Regions from separate parts of the Homo sapiens genome. Here region 1 is linked to region 2. Evidence: promoter capture Hi-C in 16 types of primary human blood cells and fetal thymus (Javierre and others, 2016). All regions are on one chromosome and are shown on one strand. The core of a region is centred on a gene start or on the middle of the fragment in contact, and the rest is flanking DNA. Distances in the headings are between cores, read along the strand shown. Region 1 holds the start of LOC124905002 (a long non-coding RNA gene). Region 2 holds the start of MRPL39 (mitochondrial ribosomal protein L39).

Evidence for each region. The method cuts DNA at HindIII sites, captures the fragments that hold promoters and counts their contacts. A CHiCAGO score of 5 or more calls a contact.
Region 1: a fragment that was not itself captured here is called in contact with the fragment with the promoter of MRPL39 in region 2 in 6 of 17 cell types (activated CD4 T cells, naive CD4 T cells, non-activated CD4 T cells and 3 more); the score reaches 7.3 in activated CD4 T cells.

Annotation. Positions count from the first base shown.
Region 1 is chr21:25,715,081-25,721,873 of GRCh38, forward strand. It overlaps JAM2 (junctional adhesion molecule 2), which reads left to right. Exons shown (of 10, transcript NM_021219.4): 10 at 1-2,482. It overlaps LOC124905002 (a long non-coding RNA gene), which reads right to left and starts at 5,421. Exons shown (of 2, transcript XR_007067827.1): 1 at 2,581-5,421. The HindIII fragment of the contact is 2,731 bases long and covers 2,312-5,042 here.
Region 2 is chr21:25,603,934-25,611,107 of GRCh38, forward strand. It overlaps MRPL39 (mitochondrial ribosomal protein L39), which reads right to left and starts at 3,548. Exons shown (of 10, transcript NM_017446.4): 1 at 3,470-3,548; 2 at 2,516-2,722; 3 at 1-2. The coding sequence starts at 3,542. RefSeq lists an enhancer at 3,493-3,612 and a silencer at 4,593-4,652. The HindIII fragment of the contact is 17,691 bases long and covers 990-7,174 here.

The DNA.
Region 1 (6,793 bases), core at 2,427-4,926, 110 kb after region 2:
CAAAAGGAACCTCTGGTCTCATTTCTGCCAGAATCCTCTTTTCTCCCCTAATATCATCCTTATTCTGATGCTCGTTCATCACTAACACACCCACAGAAAGGAGGAAGCGGGATGGGTCTTATGCCCAAGGATTTGCACTTTGTGTTTACTTCCATTCCTGGGAACTAAAAGCAACATCAAAAGAAATGCCTAATGGCTGGAGCCCACAGGTGTGCACCACAGGATTTGCCTGGTGTGTGTCACTGATTTCTTCATTAAACGTAATTTAGATGGTCAAACACAAACCCAAGTGGCTTATTTCACCCCTACTGCTGCTTGCCACTGCTTCCTTCTTGTAAGATTTCTTTGAAGAGGATCAGTGACTTTGACATCAGAACTCACCACTGGAGCCTACACAAGTTTGCAGATACCTTTCCCTGCAGGAGTGGTGACTTCACATCTTTCTGTCTCTAAAAATTGTGCAGTGACATTCCGGGCCAAGTCCCTTAGTCAGGGGTTGACAATTCTGCTTTTGGACAAGGAGGGATGTGGAGGGAAGAAGTAATAGTCTACCAGGAAAATGAGACGAAAAAGCTCAGTATGACTCCCTGCATCTGGTACCCCTCTTGAAACACAGTGGGCACATGAGCAATGGCTCAAACGAAAAGTGGATCTAATGTGGGTTTCTCAACCGATGAACCACAAAAGCTTCCAGCTACTATTACAATGTGAAAATTCCAATGATCCGTTTACCAGAGCAATTAGACTATGTTAAAAATTCATATCATTTGTAACTTCTTTTAATTACTGAATTGATATTAAAAACAAAATATGGCTAGGGCATGTCCTATTCTTCTGGGCAAATGTGGATGAAAAGGTCACTTGCTACCTTTGACAACTATGAACATGATGGTTAATCTTCTTTCTTTTTTTTTTTTTTTTTTTGAGACGGAGTCTCACTCTGTCGCCCAGGCTGGAGTACAGTGGCACAATCTTGGCTCACTGCAACCTCCGCCTCCCCTCCGCCTCCCAGATTCAAGCACTTCTCCTGCCTCAGCCTCCCAAGTAGCTGAGATTATAGGCGTGTACCACCACACCTGGCTAATTTTTGTATTTTAGTAGAGAAGGGTTTCACCATGTTGGCCAGGCTGGTCTCAAACCTCTGACCTCAAATGATCCACCCCCATCAGCCTCCCAAAGTGCTGGGATTATAGGCATGAGCCACTGCACTGGGCAGGTTAATCTTCTTTCAAAAGAGTCTGCTCTTTCTACCCAATTGGCGAAGCAAATCCCCAGGATTCACCGAACAAATGGATTAAGCACCCACTGAGTGCCTAGCATGTGCCTGGACACCAGGCCACCGGGAAGATGCTCCCCCTTTGACTTGTCTATGACATGCTATGTCTCTCACCAGATCCCTTCCTGGAGGTCGGGCTTCTGTAACATGGCTCTGCCCCCAAAATAAAATTTTCACCACGAGTCAGGGATCGGCAAACATTTTCTGTAAAGAGCCAGAAAGTAGATATTTTAAGTCATAAGGTCCCTGTTAACAACTACTTGACTCTGCCATTGTAGCACAAAGGCAGCCACAGACAAAACAAGCAAGTAGTCATGTCTGTGTTCCAATAAGACTTTATTTACAAAAACAGCAGGCACAGACAAGATTTGGCCCACAGGCATAGATTCCCAACTCATGGTGGTGAAGTACAGAAAAAAACACCTGTCTACAAGCTTTTGTAAGAAATCAGGCTAAATGTTACCTATGTTTTGGTTGGAAGATTTCTTTGGTTTGAGGAATGCTTTCCTCTTGCATTGGCATGCCAAGAGGATAGATGACTCTGAAAGACGCCTCTTCAGACATACCTGTCATCACACAAGATCAACTTCTTCAGTTTAAATGACACAAATCCATATTGTGGAAGGAAAATATGTAGTGCCTTAGCTTCACTAATAGTTGTAAAACTTCTTTTTAAGACATCAAAGGCTAGAGGATTCATTTTATGCAGTGCGAACATCTAATAACACTCTCTGTGTCAAATATATATTGTACATTACCTTAAACTATTGTAATAGCTAGGTAAAAATCCTTGTATAAAAGAATGTTTTCCCCCACACAAAGGGCAGAGTATTGAGCACTAATTTCCTATTAAAAGTATATATATGTATCTGTGGGTCACTGGTGTCCAGACTTGTATTTGCATTTGTGTTTACTTGAGGAACTTGAACACTAACAACTGGTAAAATCCCATTGTAATTCTTACAGCATTTTGACTTTATTTTCCTGCAGTGAATTGTGTTGTGTAAAGATTAGGGCTTTAAAATCTTATTAGCAAGCTTTGTTTTGTTTTAATTATTGTTGCTGTTGTAACTAGATTTAATTTATTTTTAGTTGGAGGTTTGACCTAAGTCTGGACCAATTGATTGCTTTTCAATACAACTTTGCAAAGAACTTCCTTTTTCCACAGGTGGCTTTGTTCGATTAAAGTCTACACTAATAAAAATAGCTGAACTTGTTAAACTTTTTAGCCCCATATAACAGTGCAGGGAAAGAGTCATCCACCTATTGTTATTCATAAAACCCAGGAAACTACACCCTCTTACCTTCTGTAGCTACAAGGCTAGCTGCTGGTTAGCTGCTTAAGATTAGAATGTCATCATCTCTGGATGGCTGCCAACTTCTCAAATGCTGAGAAAAATGCTCTGAAAATAAAAAGCAACAACTATTTATTGAACACTTTATATATGTCAGAGGTGGGGATGGATGGGGGTGAGGATGTAGAAAATCTCATTCATCTCAGCGATACTATAAAGTGGGTAATGTCATCATTTTGCAGATGAGGAAACAAGAGTTACTGACTTGTCAAGTTCATGGAGCTGAGGAGTGAGGAATCAGGGTCTGTGGGGACCCAGATCAGTCTGATCCAGGATGTTTCACACACCATGTTTTTCTCTACCCCCAGGCTGACTTCCTTTTAAATTCTTTGCTGTTATTGTTGAGATGGGGTTTTGCTCTGTCACCCAGGCTGGAGTTCAGTGCCGCGATCACGGCTTACTGCAGCTTTGACTTTCCAGGCTCAAGTGATTCCCCCAGCTCAGCCTCCCAAATAGGTGACACCACAGGTGTGTGCCATGCCCAGTTAATTATTTATTATATTTTTGTAGAAGGGGGGTCTTGCCACGTCGCCAGGCTGGTCTCAAACTCCTTGACTCAAGCGCTCCTCCCTCTTCGGCCTCCGAAACTGCTGGCATTACTATAGGCCTAAGCCCGGTCCTTTTATTTATCTATTTATTTTTAAATTTTATGTATTTATTTATTTTTTGAGACGGAGTCTCGCTCTGTCGTCAGGCTGGAGTGCAGTGGCGCGATCTCAGCTCATTGCAACCTCAAGGGTTCAAGCAATTCTCCTGCCTCAGCCTCCCGAGTAGCTGGGACTATAGGCGCGCTCCACCATGCTTAGCTAATTTTTGTGGTTTTAGTAGAGATGGGGTTTCACCAAGTTGGCTAGGATGGTCTCGATCTCTTGACCTTGTGATCTGCCCACCTCGGCCTCCCAAAGTGCTGGGATTACAGGCGTGAGCCACTGTGCCCAGCCGAGCCCAGTCCTTTTAAATTCTTGTGCGCTTCTCTGTCACACTTTCCTTTCACCCCCAGTTATCTCTGGCCCCTCATCGCCTTCCTGGTCTCACTGCCAGACAAAATACCTTTTTGTCATGCCTTTCCCCTAACCCAGTCTAAATATCACAGTGGGCCATTTCATTCTCTTCCACTCTCCTCTCATTCTCCGAAGATGCCCAAATCTCTAATATTATTTTGAAAAATATTGAGGCTAACCAGGATGAATGCATTTAAATCCTATCACCACCACTGCCCCCTCCTATCTCTAAATCTCTCCATCTTTAGCCTCCCATTTATTCACTGACTACATCATTCATTGTCTTATTTGATTCTTCAGTCACTACTTTCATCCTTTTATCTCAGGCTTTCAATAGCATCTCAACGTTTATCTCCGGGAACTTCCACCCTCCAGTACCCTCTCAGTCACAACGTCAATCTCTCCAGTTCCAAAGGCTCCTTTTCCCTCTAATCTCTTCTTCCCCCCACCCCATCCATCAATTTGCCCCATTTCTCTCGAACCATGTCAACTCCCTTCTCCTTTCCCCTGGCTAAACCCTTTCACTCTTCCTTTACCTAGTCTATCACAAAATCTAAACTCCTCAGCCTGGAATTCAAGGTTTCCCACCCATCACAGACATATCCCATCATATTGCCACAGCCTACGTATTCAGCTATATGTTCTACTAACTTCTTCGGTTGCCTCATGTACCCATTAAACTGAGCTATGGTCATTTTATCTTAACCCATTTCCCCCTCCTCTATACACTTACCTATAACACCCTATCCACCTGGAATGTTAATTCTCCTAACCACAAGACTTGTATATTCTATCTACTTATTAAGAGACAGGTCAAATTCCACCCCCTCTAGGACAGCCTTCTCTCATTTCCCCTGCTGGAAACTCTTTCTTCTCTGAATTTCCGTAACCCTTGATTCACTTACTGGTTTCTACCCCATAATAGGAATGAACATGTTTGACACCCCTACCAATCTGGAAGCATTTTGAGAAAAGAACCATGTTTTACACAACTTTATAAGACCCAAAGAATTTAACAGCATCTAACGTGGTTGGTATTTAATGTGATAAATGAATTTTTAAAAATCAAAGGAACACTTGTCAAAGAGCAAATTTAGTATTTAACTATAAAATTTCCCCATAAATTTAGTTCAAATATTAATAAATGATTGTATTCTGAAATATGTAATTATAATAGTTATCTAATATGTGAAGTTACAAAGTTGTTCCATGAATGAAGGCTGGATGGAAACTATTTTTCTCATACCAGTCTTTTAGCAATTAGACATGAATTTCCACACAGTTCTTAAGAAGCTCTTCAAATATTTTTCCAACTTTCAAATTTTAAAATTTAATTTTTCATCTTTTGTTTTCTCTTTTTGGAACACTTTTAGTGTTAACAGTTGGTTAAGAAATTCAAGGTAAACTAAAAGCTTTCATTTGTGATACTTTCAATATTTGTTTACTTTTCAATATATGCTAAGTTTTTACTTGACCAGGTTTGAAAAAATGTACTAATTAAGACAAACTGGAGTGTAAAATGTCTTTTTACTTTCCACCAAGAAAATGCTCTCAAAACAAGTTAAGTGTGTGTCAACAAAGGACCTGTTTACCTTCTTTGAGATTGAAAGCAGGCTGTTTCAAAGCTCCATTTCATGATCCTTTATTTTCAACTTCAAGTGTGCTATTTATAAAGTTTCTTAAAGATGGTATAAAAATAGAGATTTACCAAGAGCTATAGTTGGAGTCCTAAAGTTGCTTATGGTTTTTTTTTTTTTTTTTGAAATGCAGTCTCGCTCTGTCACCCAGGCTGGAGTGCCGTGGCGCAAACTTGGTTCACTGCAGCCTCCTGGGTTCACGTAAGTCTCGTGCCTCAGCCTCCTGAGTAGCTAGGATTACCGGCACCGGCCAACATGCCTGGCTAATTTTTGTATTTTTAGTAGAGACAGGGTTTCACCATGTTGGCCAGGCTGATCTTGAACTCCTGACCTCAGTGATCTGCCTACCTCGGCCTCCCAAAGTGCTGGGATTACAGGTGTGAGCCACTGCGCCCAGCCAACTTCTTAATTTCTCATTCTCAAACTTTCTTTCCAAATATTTACTATGGAATTTAACTACTGCTGAATTGAAGTTACTGTAGGTTAAGAAACATTTTCTTTCTAAATTTTAGGATAATATATACCAAAGAGAATGAATAAAAGTTTTACAAAGACGCTATGTTCATATAACAGGATGTTAATTGGGACTTTCTCTGTTGCCTAAAGACTAGAAACAAGTATCTCACTTTCTAGGGAAAATGAAGGCTGGACGCAGTGGCTCACACCTGTAATCCCAGCACTTTGGGAGGCTGAGGTGGGAGGATCATTGGAATCTAGAAGTTCGAGAACAGCATGGGTGACGTAGTGAGACTGTCTCAAAAAACTGAAAAACTAGCTGGGTGTGGTGACATGCACCTGTAGTCCCAGCTACTCGGGAGGCTGAGACAGGAGGATCACTTGAGCCCAGAAGGTTGAGGCTGCAGTGAGCTGTGATCACACCACTGCAACTCTAGCCTGGGCAAAAGAGTGACACCTTGTTTCAAGAAAAGAAAAGAAAAAAAAAAAGAAAAGAAAAAATACATTGGGTATAAATACCCCTTCACTGTTGATGAAGAGACAGCCACCCTGAAATAATTACTCCAGTCCACCACTACTCTTTACCCTTCACCTCATCACACAGTCCATATAAGCTGAAGTGTGTATGGATGGATTTGGGATGGGAAGGAACGAGGGGATGGAAAGAGACAGAGAATGAGTTTGCCAAAGTCATAAGGAGTACTATTCCCCCAGGTCACCCCCAAAGGAAGTAAAGAGAATATTTAAGACATCACTTGCAAAAACTGAAGGCACCTGCCAAGGAAATAGGAGCTATTTGAGCCAGTGGAAAGGGAGCTGGAAAAAAATATCAAGAAGAGGGGGAGGGCCAGGCGTGGTAGTGCATGCCTGTAGCCTGTAGCCACTCTGGAGGCTGAACTGGGGGGATTGCTTAAGCCCAGGAGTTCAAGGCTGCAGTGAGCTATGATCAAGCCACTGCCTGGGCAACAGAACAAAAGCCCATCTCTTAAAAAAAAGGAGAGCGAAAAAAATTTGCCAGGCATGGTGGCGGGTGCCTGTAGTCCCAGCTACTCGGGAGGCTGAGGCAGG
Region 2 (7,174 bases), core at 2,298-4,797:
ATCTAGAAATTTAAAACAGACTGATTATCTAACAAAATCCAGAGTGAAAAGTTACATGTTTAAGTGCTATATTTAGAAATATAACAATGGAAAGGCAAGATTCTGCAGACTGTCCTTTTTAGAGAAAAAAAGTATATTACGTCTATAATCAATTAAAAAAAAAAACCCTACAAAAATTAGCCAGGTGTGGGGGCACGTGCCTGTAATCCCAGTTATTTGGGAGGCTGAAACAGGAGAATCGCTTGAACCAAGATGGCAGAGGTTGCAGTGAGCCGAGATCACGCCACTGCATTCGAGCCTGGGTGACAGAGCGAGACTCTGTCTCAAAAATAAATAAATAAATAAAATAATACCCAATATACTCAAGGTCTTATTGGTTATTAACAAAATTACCCAAACCATTTACAAAATTTGTTCAGGCTACATCTAGTTTGAAATTAATTTGCTAATTATTAATGAAAAAAGTTACACTTGAATATTCAGAGAGCAGCATCATGGATACATTTGGATAGATACACACACAACTCAAAGTAAAAGGGAAATATATTAATACACACCTACAAAAATCAGTTCTAGATTGGTTTTGGGTCTTGCTCCCAAACCATCTCTTATTTCCATGACATAGATGCTTCAAGTTAAATACAGTAGTTACCATTTTTTAATAATTAATATTAACTCCCGGATAAGCCAATCAGCTCTGGTCTGTTTCATCATCCCAGAATGCAATGCCAACTGTTAATGCCAATTAGATGTTCTGCAATTACACAGCTACTCACAAAAGTAGTCAAACTACAAGGTCTAAATTATCAACCACTACATAAACCCCGTAAAGTCAGGGATCATGTCTACTTTTGCTCACTCATCAGTATATCCAGAGTCTAGCACCAGGCCTGGAATATAGCAGGTGTTCAATAACAGTTTACTGAATGACTGCAAGCATGAATGACAAGAACGTCTCATTGCAGGGGTCATGCTGAGGATGCTTCAGAAGCTTCATCACTACATGTGATGTGTATAAAGCTCCTTAAGGGCCTGAGTTTTGTCTTATCCTCCTCTGTAGTCCTAATGCCTATCATATCGCAGAGGTTCCAGAAATACTTGAAAACCAAATGAGTAAATATTTATAAGTACTAATTCAAATGCCAGAGTGAAGGAAGATTAAGAGTGAGTGTAGACTCTCTAGGCCAGTTTAAGCTGATAACTAAAGTTGTTAATTACTTAAATGGAATGGTTACTGAGTTTTCCAAAAGTTTAAGCAATGCAGCTAGTCATGCCTGTATCTGTTTTGGGGCTTCTTTAATTTAAATATTACCAGTTCTATCAAACGTACTATCAAAACATTTTGATCAAAAATAAAATATAGAAGTTCTTATTCCCTTCATTTCCACACAAAATCACACATGGGGCACAGTTGTCTCCTTTAAGATATACATAAATACTTTTACCCCAATCACATTCACCCCATGCACATTCCCACTCACACATTTACCACATGTACATCTAAATGTCAACAAAAATACAACACAGAGAGAGCCAAGTGGAAAGCAGATGATAGATTAAGTTAGGCTATACAATGAAGAGGGGAGAAAGAAAAAGGCGGCAAAAAAAAGCTGATCATCTGAGGCCATGGCAATCCCTTTACACCAAAATCCTTTCTTGAGACCTGCACGGTGACTCCTCCCACCACATCACAGCCCTAGCTAAAAGGAGCAAGCAAATTCCAGCTACTTGGGAGGCTGAAGCAGGAGGAGAGCTTGAGGTCAGAAGTTCAAGACCAGCCTGGGCACCACAGCCACCCTCTCTCTCAAAAATAAAAATAAATTAGCCAGGTGTGATGGTGGGCACCTGTAGTCCCAGCTACTTCGTAGGCTGAGGCTAGGAGTTTCAGTGAGCTATGATAGTACCACTACACTCCAGCCTGGGAGCAGGGCCAGACCCTCATCTCTAAAATTAAATTAAATTAAAGGAGAAAGCACACTAGTAACAATGCACTCAGGTCTGGTCACCTTCTGCCAGAAAATTATCTAGTACCATAAACAAAGCCAGATTCAAACAAGCGCCAGGCAGGACAATCTGTGCACTACAGTGCCAACCTTGCAATACTCAGAGTACCCTCCAGAACTACAGGGACAGTGAATAGACAATAAGGTGCCAGATAAAGAACCTCTGGGAAGTCCAGGGACTTCTGCGCCCACCACATCTGGCTAATTTATTTCTATTTTTATTTTTTGAGAGACAGGGTGGCTATGGTGCCCAGGCTGGTCTTGAACTTCTGGCCTCAAGCTATCCTCCTGCTTCAGCCTCCCAAGTAGCTGGGATTTGCTTGCTCTTTTTAGCTAGGTCTGTGATGTGGTGGGAGCAGTCACCATGCAGGTCTCAAGAAAGGATTTTGGTATAAAGGGATTGCCATGGCCACAGATGACCAGAAGTAATTACAGCATCCTGTCTCCTGCACCAGTGCTTCCACACAGCTTAAGTAAAAGGGTCAAAACTGTAACCTGATTCTGCTACTTACGCATGGCACAACTGTAGGGAGTTGAAATGTTTTTATTCATCACGAAGACAGTACCGGGGTCAGTTTTCCCAACATGCTTAACTTCTATCTTCTCAGTTCGGGGAGTTAATGATAACTGCCTGGCTTTCTCTTTATTAAAGAGATCATTCCGCATTTCTGTCAATTCTGTCGGTGACAGCTGAGAAGCTGACGATGTTGCTATAAATCCTGTGGAGAAGTTACAATAAATATGAAGACTGAAAAAATGATTAACGTACTGCCAAAAGTGCGCTCAGAGGTAAAATTAAACCAATTTGTAATATTAACAAACACCAGCGGAAGAAACAGAGCTGGCCCAGATACGTGCCTCTACTTTTAAATTTGGCTCTTTCACATCAGATCGCTATTTCCCACCAATTTCCTGTGTCGTGTTTCCAATCAGTGCTTTACAATAAGGGGCAAAAAGTAACCAGGAAACGGAGTCAAAACTGGACTAGAGTCATTGGGAAGGTGAACAAAGTGGTCGGTTTGACAGGGTCTGAAGAAAAACAAGAAAATTTCAGGAAACCAAAGGTCCCACACCGAAACTATCAATATCCAGAATGAGAAATGCTGAGTTTATATCCCAAAGGCCAAATCAGGGAACCTGCCAAGGCAAGTACGAGTATTCCTTGGGAAGACATGGACAGATGTGCACGGAACGTGCGCTGCTTCCCAGAGGCGGGCCCAAGCTCCTCCCGCGGCCTGGCTCCGACCCCTGGCCCCGACCCCTGCCCTTGCCCCTGCCCTCCGCCAGACCCTCGTTCCCATAAATTAGTCCTCCCAAGCTGTGCAAGAGCGACCGCCGCGGAGGGACTAAGAAACCCTCCTCCTTCCTCTGCCCCGCGGGACCTCCCCGGCCCCGCCTCAGACCCAATCTAGACAGACACCACTATCTAGGCCTCGCTCCCTGTCCCTACGGCCTCTGAAACTCACTCCATTTGATCCCGCCACCGGGTGCGACCAGCCAGAGCCGCAGCGCCCGGGAACCCATGGCCAGCGCCTCCATAGCAGCGGTGAGAACCGTCGCGCGCAAGTCCTTCTCCGCCCTCCTCCCCCGGAAACCGAACGCGCACTCGGAGTTCCGCAGGACAGGTCTGTTCCGGACCCAGCACTCAGACTGCTCGCCTCCACCGGGGGGCGTCAGGCCTCGCTGGGGATTCAGTGGCTGAGACCCCGAGACTCGGAGCCGGGGCGCGTTACCTGTGCTCGATACCTGGGCGCGGTCACCTACCCAGAGGTGCAGGGCCCCCAGGGCGGTCGGCCTGCCGCCCACCACGTAGGCTCTGCAGGGAAACAGAGTTCCACAGGCGTCGTTGCCCTCCGCCTTCAGCCCTCCGCGGGTTCGATCCCGGCCACCCAGGTGAAGCGCTTGCTTCCCTAAAAGAATATATGGTTTTCTTGGCGGGGGCGGGGGTGGGGGGGAATGGGGAAGGCGTCTTCTATTTTGTCAGCGATGACATCCTCTAGCGCGTGGCTTAACTTTCAATTGTGCCGGGTAGGTTCTTAGTTCGGCTGGAGTGGGTCTGCACCCCGGTTCTCCCCTTAGCTGTGGTAATAGAGGCCTCGGAACACGTCCCCTTGACTTTGGAGAGGACGTTGTAATTCCTAAGAGCTCTTTACAAATTTTCTAGTTTAGTTTATATAGTATAGGATGTATAGGAGAAGGCATCCCGGGGCAGAATTTTTGTCTCTAGTTCACTGATGTATCCCAAGCGCCCAGAACAGAGCACAGCGCAGTCAGCGCTCAACAGATGTTTCTTGAATGAATGAATGAATGAATGCCCTTGCAGGCAAACTTCAGCTCATTGTCTAATTTTTCTGTCCTACCAGGACGTGAGTGTTATTTGAAGTAAGCACTCTGTAGGTACAGGATGGAAATATTTTCATTTACAGTAGTTTAATTCTGTGGCTTTACTTAAGGGTGTCGAATTCAGCCTTTCCCCCACTCTGTCCTTTGCCTTGCAATTGGAATGCGCCGCCACCAGGTGGAAGTGCCGCCTAAGGTACAAATATGACCCTGCGCCACGATAGATCGACCGTCTCCTTGGCCCAAATGTTACACTCACAACCACTGCGCCAGGAAAGTGTAAGTATCTTCACTTTTTAAAATGGGAAATGTAAGTGACGGAGCTTGGATTTACATCCAGTCTACATTTTACCAGGCTACATTTCATTTAAGATCCTAATTCAAACCACGAAATGTACATATATACATATAGTGTTGGAGGGCGGGTGTATCTTTTGCTTCCTCAAATTTGCATACAGTTCCCATGAAAGCTGTCTGTTTCATCGGCCTTTTAGAGCCTGTACCCATTTAACCTTACCTAGAAACACTCTAGTGCCCTTAGAACATCTTAGAGCCACATTTAAGCAAAGCCTCTGAACATAAACTTAAGCAAGTTTGATCACAAACCCATTGGAGGCAGGTAATTGGAGTTCACCGGTATGAGAAATTAACCTAGTTGAAAGGTTGTCACTAGTGATAATGGCCAAAAAATACTATGTGCCAATCATAGGGCTTGGTTTATTAATTTTCACAACCTACCTGAGCAATTGGCATAATAATCTTCATATTCCAGGAAAAGAAATTCAGGTTTTAAGAGCTTGAGAGACATACCCGAGGTAAATCTTTGGCCAAGAATTCCCCCCAAATATTTTCTTACTCTGAATCTTCTTTATCTTGCCTTCTTTATCAACCAGCTCCCCAAATCTTAGTCTCACTCTGTCAATGTCTCTGCCAAATAAAAAGTATCAAGTCTGTAACAGTAAATATCTAAGATAAGCCTGGATCATTACTGTGCCAGAAAGCCTACAACTAACTATAAAATACAGACAAACAGAAACATGTTAAAAAGGACGGCGGACCAAGCTCGAAGGTCCTCCCGCTGTCCAAATTTGGGAGAGTTTGCATAACAAAAAGAATAATGCTGAAATATTATGACATGTATATTAAAAATTCATGAATCCGTAATGACACTCAAGAATAAATCAGTGTAGAAAGAGTGAAGAGAGTTTTCTGTACAAAAGAATGCCAGATAATAAAAGTCATAGGAATAATAGAATAGGGAAAATCACCATTCTGCATCTACCAATGTAACCATTGGTACAGGAAGGGATCGTCAATAGATGCTAAAATCAGTAGAGAAAGTTTGTTGAGGATCAGGGATATAGTCACATAGTCTCTAAGTATCACCTCACATATTACTGACAAAATACAAATGGATAAGTGAAACTTTTCAATGGAGAAATCTGGTGGATATCATCATCAAGTGGTCAAACTTATCATCACCCAAAATGAGACAATCTGACATTATTTGTGCTTCTTGGTTGTGATATAAACAATATTATCTATGGAGTATTCCTAACATAAATATTTAACCTGAATCTAAAGAATTATGAGGAAATCAGGTATATCCAAAAAGTGATATATTCTACAAAACAACTGACCTAAACTCTTCAAAAATGTAAGTTTTATGAAAGATGAACCCCCAAATAGTTAATAAACTGTCCTAAATTAAAGGAGACTAAAGAAATATACAGTTATTATCAATGCATGATCCTCGCTAGGTTTTGGATCAGGAAAAAAAATTTACAAAGAATGTTATTGTGACAGAGAAACTTGAACTGTATACTAAATAATATTATATCAATGTTATACTTCTTGGATACAATAATAGTGTCATGGTCATATAGGAAATAATCCTTATTCTTAAGATATATATATTAAAATATTTAGGAACCAAATATCACTATGCCTATAACAAACTCCCAAATGTTTCAGCAAAAACAGGGAGCTCTAATATTGAGGGAGGGAACAAGACAAATTTAGCAAATGTGGCAAAATGTTAACAATTAGAGAATCTAAGTGAGGATTTTAGTTGAACTACTCCTTCAACTTTATTCTGAAATGTTTCAACATCAAAACTTTGGAGAATAACTTCAGTGGTTTTCAACCATGAAAGTTTATTTTGCTTATGTTGGCTGTCAGTGATGGCAGCTACCAGCCAATTGCGGCTCTGCAACTTTATTCCAGAATCCAGGCCATAGAAGCAGCCCCTACTTGGTCTTGTGCTTCTTGTGGCAGAGGGAAAAGAATGCAGTTAACCACCTTGTGCACTGGCTCTTAAGAGCTTCTGTTCAGACTCACCTGTGTCTCAGCCACACAGTCCCCTGGCCCCAGCAAGTCCCCTGGTCAAGACCAATGTCAATCAAGTAGGATGCCTCCTGCAGGGAGCCAGTAAATGAGGTTATATACTTCACATTCAAGGAGGAATGCAAATCACTGGAATCAAGATTCAATAACAACGCCAGGTTTCATGGCTCACTCTTGTAATCCCAGCACTGTAGAGTGGCTGAAGTGAGCAGCTCCTTTGAGCTCAGGAGATGGAGACCAGTCTGGATAACATGGCAAAACCCTGTCTCTACAAAACAAATACAAAAAATCAGCTGGGTGTGGTGGTACTTGGGAGGCTGAGGTGGGAGAATCACCTGAGCCCAGGAAGTCGAGGCTGTAGTGAGCTGTGATTGCACCACTGCACTCTGGCCTAAATGACAGAGTGAGATCCTGTTCCAAAAGAAAAAAAAAAAAATCCAGTAACACAGTAATTTTCCCAAGATCGCAAAGATTATCTGGGGCTT